Linked DNA regions of Homo sapiens: region 2 is linked to region 1. The links are contacts of gene promoters, found by promoter capture Hi-C in human tissues and cell types (Jung and others, 2019). All regions are on one chromosome and are shown on one strand. The core of a region is centred on a gene start or on the middle of the fragment in contact, and the rest is flanking DNA. Distances in the headings are between cores, read along the strand shown. Region 1 holds the start of CDH5 (cadherin 5). Region 2 has its middle 88 kb from the start of CDH5.

Region 1 (3,780 bases), core at 949-3,448:
TCCTTCCCCTGGTATCACTGGGCTCCTGGCTTGTCCCTGTGCCTGCCTCTGTGGCCTGGACTGCTCTGCTTTCCCCCTCTCTGAGCTTCACTGTGGAGTGTGGCATGGACTGTGGGTCAGAAGGAACCGCACTCACCCTGCTTCTACCTTGTGTTGGTTGTGTGACCTTGGACTGGCTGCACAGCTTCCCTCAGCCTCGATGGTCCCATCTGTCAAATGGGAATTCTCATAGTTGCTTCAGTGTGACTGAGGGGGTGCAGAGAGAGGATACAGGGAACAGTCATGGGTCCATGTGGGCAAAATGAGCCTAAGATTCTTCCTGGGATGGTGTCCCCTCTGTCCCCTGGGTGTCCCCAAGTCAGCAGTGAATCATCCAACTTTGCAGAAAATGTGTGGCCCCTGCTGGCTTCCTGCCCTCATGTCCGGCCCTTGTTTGGCAACACAATAGCTCAGGCTGAGGCTGCAGGCGGGCAGCTTAACCCCTTCCAGGCCAGTATACACCTCCCCTACCCCTCACCACCATAAGCTGAAATTGGTAGGGCTGCTCAGGGGCTCAGCAGCTCTTGGGCCCCTTGGTGGATACCTGCTGCTCTCTAGGGCAGGCAGAGGAGAGTCCCAGGCTTCCCACCACCTGAGGATGGACCAGGGCTTCTGGCCCTGGCTCCAGTGGCCTGTGGCAAAAGAGCCTTCCAGGTACACCCTCGACTCCTCAAAGCTGCCTCCCTGGGAATGCCCTTCCTCTCTTGTCAGAATCCTATCTGCCCATCACACATGAGAAACGTCCACGCTGGGGAGGGAGCCTGACATGGAGCAGAGGCCCAGAGGTGCTCGCGATGTCCTCTCACTTGCACCCCCTTCCTCGTACCTGCTGGGCACCTGAGGACCCCTCCGTGATGGGGTTTGACCATACCTCAAGGGCCAAAATCTTTATCACATTCACAACCAGGATCGGCTCTGTGCTAGCTGGTAAATCCAGCCACTATTCCTTAAAGATCTCATGTTATGTGCCATTCCCAGCACCAGGGATGTAGCTCACTTCACTCAATTGACTGAGGAAACACTGTTTCCCCATTTCACAGATGAGACACTTGAGACCTGGGGAGAGCTGGGGCTTTGGAGTACGAGATCCTGGTTCAAATCCCCACACCAGCTCATATGTTTCCAAAGCTCAGTTGCTTTCACTGAGATATAAAGAAAGAATGTATCTACCTTGTGGAGTTGTTAATGGTAAAATAATGAGCCCCACACCATCCCTTGTTCCCCACTGTGGTTTGGAAACTCTGGGTAACTTTCCCAAGGTCACCCCAGAGCAAATGGGAGAGCTGGGATCTGTACCCAGGGCAGCTGTCTCCAGGCCAGGCTCTTGGCCCAGACCTCCTGCTTCTGGGGGACTTCCTGGGCTGTGGGGGCCTTGGGGCTCTTATGCTCTAGCCTTTGAAAGGGTGCTGGTGGGAGGAATGGTGGACCGCTGTCCAGACTACAGCTCCCTTGACACATAGTGGGCCCCGATGGTGTTTGGGCAGGGAAAGGCCCAGAGGGAAAGGCAAGACCTCAAGTGCCCAGAGCCAAGCCTCAGCTTGCCTATCCTGAAATGGGGGCACTGGCTGACCGAGAGGGGCCAAGGCTCGGAGCTTCCTTTTCAGGGCCCCTCCCCAGATCCCAGCATAGAGCTTTAGTGGCGTATGGGTAGGGGGCTGAGGAGGCTGGTGTCAGGCCTTGGTAAATCCTCTCCAGTAAGGGTAAGGCACCGAGGGGAGGCCAAGGCCTGGGTGCCAGTCCTCTGCCCCGGCATGCTGGGCAACTGGGGCAGAATACTGCCCTCTCTGAGCCTGGCACTGATGAAGGCCAGTGGGCCTTTTTGAGTTGGAGAATACACTTCTGGGAGAGCCAAGCCCTTGCCCTGCCCCCCTCAGCCCCGAGATGCCCATTTGTGCCCTTGGCACTACCTCTGGGTGCACCTTCCCCGACCCTGCTCTGAGCCACGAGGAGGCCCAGCGTGCCCTCGAGGAGCCTCTCTGTCATGGGAGTGGGACGATGCCCATTCTACAGATGGGGAAGCTGAGGACCCTCCCATCTTGGGCGCAGGGTGGCGGGTTTGGGGTGGAGGGGAGTGTGGGAGCCCCCACTCACCGTGCCTGTGGGCTGAGGGATGTTTCTGTTCCGTTGGACTGCCTGTCCGTCCAGGGCTGAGCGTGAGTGGAGCTCTGTGGAGCCTGTCAGCCGACCGTCTTTGGAGGGGAGCCACACCCCGCTGGCGAGGGAGGCCTGGCTGCCTCCCCTTCAGGTTTTCCAGCTGGCCCTGGCCCACTTCCCCCTGGGATGGTTTCCTGTTATTGTTCCTTTGTGAGGGCTGGGCTGGCTGCAGATAGGCAGGCCCTGCGGTGGGCGGCTGCCTCGGCCCCGGATGGCTGTCTCCACAGAGGGCTGGCACTGGACCCTGCCTGGGGCACCCCACTTGAACCCCTACTCCCGGCCTCAGCTCTGGGACTCTGAACCCAGCACCTGCAAAGAGCCTGGCTGTGGGGACCCTTGGCTGCAGCATCACATTTAACCCTCCTTGGAATGCTACAGGCAGGTGTCATCACCCCCATTTTATAGCCCGGGAAGCTGAGGCTCAGCGGGTTTAAGGTGCTTGTCCACCCAGCTGGGGTATAAAAGAGCCAAAAATCTAGCTGGGGTCAGCCTAGCCCCAGAGCTTGATTTTCTGTGGTGATCCCATGATGTCTTTGTGGGAATGGACTTTAAAGGTGACAGGGAGGCTTCAGGAGATGGGAAAGGGACAGAAGCTCTTGGCTCTGGAGGACCAGGTTGGCTTCTCCTGGTCAGAGCGGGCATGGACTCCAGCTCTAAGGTGCCAGCCTCGGTCTGTAGGGGATGTTTGCATTTAGGGATATTGGGTGGAGTCAAGTGACCCAGCTCTGCTTCTGATGTGACCTCTGGCCAGTTGTGTCATCCTGGAGCCACAGTTTCCTCATCTGTAAAATGGGGATAATCACAGCCTCATCCTCACAAGGCTTTTGACATAAACGAGAATCAAAGAGGGGCGTGGAAGACAGTGACGCTGAGGCTGGATCAGAGCCCAGAAGAACCAAGAGGCTGGGGGGAAGGGAGGGGCCAAGATTCTGCTGACCAGGAGAGACATAGGAGGAGCTTCTAAAAACTACAGAGGACTGGGCTCACCCCAGATCAACTGATTTGGAATCTCCCAGGGCAGATCCTGGGAATCTGTCCTTTGAAGAGTTGCTTCTGTTTTTCCATGGGTGAATGGTTGGGAAGTCCCAAACTTGTTTTATTATATAGCTGGGCAAGCAGAGACCCTGAGAAAGAGAGGGCCCAGGGCCGTTTAGTAAATCAGAGCACAAGATGGGGAGTGTGATGGAAGGATATTTTTGGAGGAGGAGGGGATAGTGATTCCTCTGTCTCAGGCAGGTTGAGTTTGAGATGCTCGTTAGATACCCAGGTGGAGGTGTCAGGCTGGTGGGGGAGACAGGGGTGAGTCCAGCCTGGAGTCGAGGTTTGGAACCCAACAGCTTATGGCTGGCATCTGAGGCCATGGGCATGGATGAGCTTGGAGGGAGGGAGGACTTGGACCCTCTGACATTTGGGGATCCATTAGAAGAGGGTCCCATGATGAAGGAGGAATGCCAGGAGAGGGCAGAGGAGGAGGGCAGGGGAGTAGTCAGTGGGTCAGCCTGGGGAGCATGAGGGCTGAGACTTAACTTTGGATTTGGAAGATGAGGTCATCAATGACTGTGACCAGAACAGGTTAAACAGGAAAAG
Region 2 (3,780 bases), core at 493-2,992, 88 kb after region 1:
AGGTCTAGCAGTACTTTTTTTATGAATCTGAGTGCTGCAATGTTGGGTGTATGTATATTTAGGATAGTTAAGTCTTCTTGTTGAACTGAGCCCTTTATCAACATGTAATGCTCCTTGTTTGTCCCTTTTTTTTGTTTTTTTACTATTATTGGCTTAAAGTCTATTTTATCTGATATAAAAATAGCAACCCCTGCTTTTTTTTAAATTTTCCATTTGTATGATAGATCTTTCTCTGATCCTTTACTTTGAACCTATAGGTGTCATTCCATGTGAGGTGGGTCTCTTGAAGACAGTAGACAGATGGGTCTTTTTTTTTTTTTTTATCCAGCTTTTCACTCCGTGCCTTTTAAGTGGGGGGATTTAGACCATTTACATTCAAAGTTAATATTGATATGTGAAGTTTTGATCCTATTGTGAAGTTGTTAGCTGGTTGCTTTGTAGTTTCTATTGTGTGGTTGCTTTGTAGGGTCTGTGGGGTGTATACTTAAGTGTATTTTTGGGGTAGCACAAAAACATTTCGTTTCCATGTTTAGAACTCTCTTAAGGATCTCTTGTAAGGCTGGTCTAATGGTAATGAATTACATTAGCACTTGCTTGTCTGCAAAGGATTTTATTTGTCCTTCACTTGTGATGCTAAGTTTGGCAGGATATGAAATTCTTGGTTGAAATTTCTTTTGTTTAAGAATACTGAAAACAGGCCCCCAATCTTTCCTGGCTTGTAAGGTTTCTGCTGAAAAGTCTGATGTTAGCCTGATGGGGATCCCTTTGTATGTGATCTGACCTTTTTCTTTAGCTGCCTTTAAGACTTTTTGTTTAGCCTTGACCTTGACAGCCTAGTGATATATGCCTTGGTGATATTTGTTTTGTATAATATCTCACATGTGTTCTTTGGATTTCTTGTAACTGGATATCCACCTCTCTAGCAAGACTAGGGAAATTTTCTTTAGTTATTCCCTCAAATAATTTTTCCAGGTTGTTTACTTTTCTCCTTCTCTCTCAGGAATGCCAGTAATTTATAGATTTGATGGCTTTACATGATCTTATATTTATCAACGACTTTTAAAATTCTTTTTTCCTTATTTTTGTCTGGCTGAGTTAATTCAAAAGACTGGTCTTCAAGCTCTGAAATTCTTTCTTCTGCTTGGTCTATTCTATTGATAAAGTTTTCAACTGTATTTTCAAATTCTTTACATGAGTTTTTCAATTCTAGAACCTCTGATTTCTTTTTAAAGCATTTAAATCTTCCTTCATTTCCTGGATTGTTCTAGAAGCTTATTTGTGTTGATTTTCAACCCTGTCTTGGATCTCATTGAGCTTCCTTGCAATCCATGCTTTAAATTCTTTATCTGTCATTTCTGAGTTTCCATTTTGGTTAGGAACCATTGCTGGAGAGCTAGTGTGATGGTGATATCACTACATTCAGAATTTTTATGGTGCCAGAATTCTAGTACTGGCTCCTTCTCATCTGGAGGCATTGGCACTTCTAATTTTTGTAGTTATTTTCATGTGGATAAAACTTTTTTCTTTCTTTCCTTACAATTTTTTTTTTCTTTTCCCTTTTCCACCTCCCTAGGGGGTGTGACTGTAGAGAATGTTGAGTAGGGTCTTTTGGCTTTGCTTCTATAACTATAAGCACTTCTGCTAGCAGGTTTTATATTGGGCTGTGTGGTTTGACTTACAAACCAGTAGATGGAGCTTATGGGTAAGAGCTGGCTGTGGCCAGTGCAGCCAGGTGTATACCTGATCCTTGTTTACTGTGAGAAGCTCTCTGTTGCCTCAGGTAATGGGCTGATTCATGGAGTGCACAATGGCCTGAGCTCCCTGCTCAGGCCTAGAGGTTGGGGCCAAGATGATGAGCGTCAGACTGGGCAGGTCCATCTACAGGTCCCCAAGTGGCAAGCATAAGCACAAGTGCTGAGGGAAAATCCAGTGAGTGCCCACCAAGCACCCTAAGGTATGACTAGGCATGCATCTGGGAAACTTCCTCAGCCCCAATTCTCTGTATGGGAAGGGGAGCAGCCTACACTTCTAATCCAGGACAGTGGGTGCCCAGATGCCTGGAAATCTGCCTTGGCATGGAGGGGAGAAGGCCCTGCTCTGCCACAATCTCTGCACAGGAAGGGTGGGGGCAGTTCAGGCTGCTGGTCCATGTGACTGAGTGCTCTGAATGCCTGGGGTTCTTCTGCCTGGGTGTGGAGTGGAGAGGGCCTTGTGCAAGAAGGGTGGGGCAGCTCAGGTTGCCAATCCAGATAAACAGGTGCTCCAAATGCCTGCAGATCTGACTGGGTTTGGAGTATAGAGGGTCAAGCTGCACCACAATCTCTGCATAGGAAGGGTGGGGCAACTCAGGCTGCTGAGCCAGGTGAACGAGTGCTCTGAATGCCTGGAGATCTGCCCAGTCGTGAAGCAGAGAGGGCCTCCTGGTACCAGGATCTCTGCACAGGAAGGATGGGGTAACTCGGGCGGCTAATCTGTGGGAGCAGATGCTCTGAATGCCTAGAGAACAGCCTGGGTGTGGAGAAGAGAGGGTCCTACTGCACACAGTCCATTCCCAAGAAGGGTGGGGCAGCTCAGGCTGCTGGTCCAGGCAAGTGGGTGCTCTTAATGCCTGGCGCTCTACCGGGAGGTAGAGCAGAGAGGGCCCCACTGCACCATGATCCCAGGGAGCAGGCTGCGGCACCCAGAAGTGACACATGCAGACCAGACTGGTTCCAGGTTGCCAAGCTGGCCCTGGCTGCAGTTCTCATCACCCAGAAGAAACCATGCTGTAGTAGCTCTCCTCCCTCCCCAGGTCTGCAATGGAGAAAAGCACAATTCCAATGCTTACTGTTGAGGTGCTTTCCACAGTTCTGGCCATGGAGGCCTGTACCCTGGTCCAGAGCAAGTGCTCCAATCTCTGGCCTGAGACTAAAATGCCTGTGCAGCCACACTGCCAGGTTGCCAAAGAGTAACTGACTTTGTATACACTCATATTGAAAATGGCACCCTGCTCTCAGTTCCAGGTCTGGGAAAATGCCTGCAGCTTTTCCAGGTACCTTTCTCTCTCAGCATCTCCAAGCCTCTCCCTGAGTTGGCTCCAGGGCTTGGGAGAAACAAAGCGCTTTCCCTTGGCTTGGATTGCTGTGTTCCCCAGAGGAAAAGTGAATCACAAAAGGAGGCTCCCTGCCCCACTCATGCACTGGGGCTTTACTCACTTTCATCATTGAGACGCAATCACAGGGGCTGTTTGCCCACCTTCTCGTCCCCAGGATTTAGGGTGTCCTTCATGATTCCAGTGGATTCCCAGGTTTTTTTTTTCTTGAATTAAAGCTCAGAGTTGATCTTTATGTAGTATTTTGCTATTTCCAAGTTTTTGAAGCATACTGAAAGCCTCTACTTCATCACCTTGAAAAGGCAAAACTAGAGGCTTTCAGTGTGCTTCAAAAACTTGGAAATAGCAAAATACTACATAAAGACCAACTCTGAGCATTAATTCAAGAAAAAAAAAAAACAAAACTGTCTCATTTTTAAAGGATAGTTTTTCCAGTTTTAGTATTCTTGATTGATAGCTTTTTTCCTTCAGCACTCTGAGTACATCATTCCACTGCCTTATGGCTAAAAGGTTTTTGCTGAGAAACCTCCTGATAATCTTATAGAAGCCTCTTTGTCTGTGATGAAGCACTTTTACTACTTTCAAGGCTTTCTCTTTGTCTTTTGACAGTTTGATTATAATGTGTCACAGTTTGGGCCTCTTTGATTTTATACCAGTTGGAATTCATTGAACTTGGACTTCTATTTTCA

The links. Contacts are between HindIII fragments. The study calls those that stand out against the background at their distance.
Region 2: a contact is called between a fragment that was not itself captured here and the fragment with the promoter of CDH5 in region 1, in 2 of the 25 tissues and cell types used here (liver and thymus).

Annotation. Positions count from the first base shown.
Region 1 is chr16:66,365,109-66,368,888 of GRCh38, reverse strand. It overlaps CDH5 (cadherin 5), which reads right to left and starts at 2,198. Exons shown (of 12, transcript NM_001795.5): 1 at 2,131-2,198. All of the region lies in intron 2 of LOC105371318 (a long non-coding RNA gene), which reads left to right. RefSeq lists enhancers at 239-945, 1,756-2,305. The HindIII fragment of the contact is 33,771 bases long and covers 1-3,780 here.
Region 2 is chr16:66,276,773-66,280,552 of GRCh38, reverse strand. No RefSeq gene overlaps it. Among named protein-coding and RNA genes, the nearest start is that of CDH5, 88 kb to the left of the region's middle. The HindIII fragment of the contact is 3,049 bases long and covers 218-3,266 here.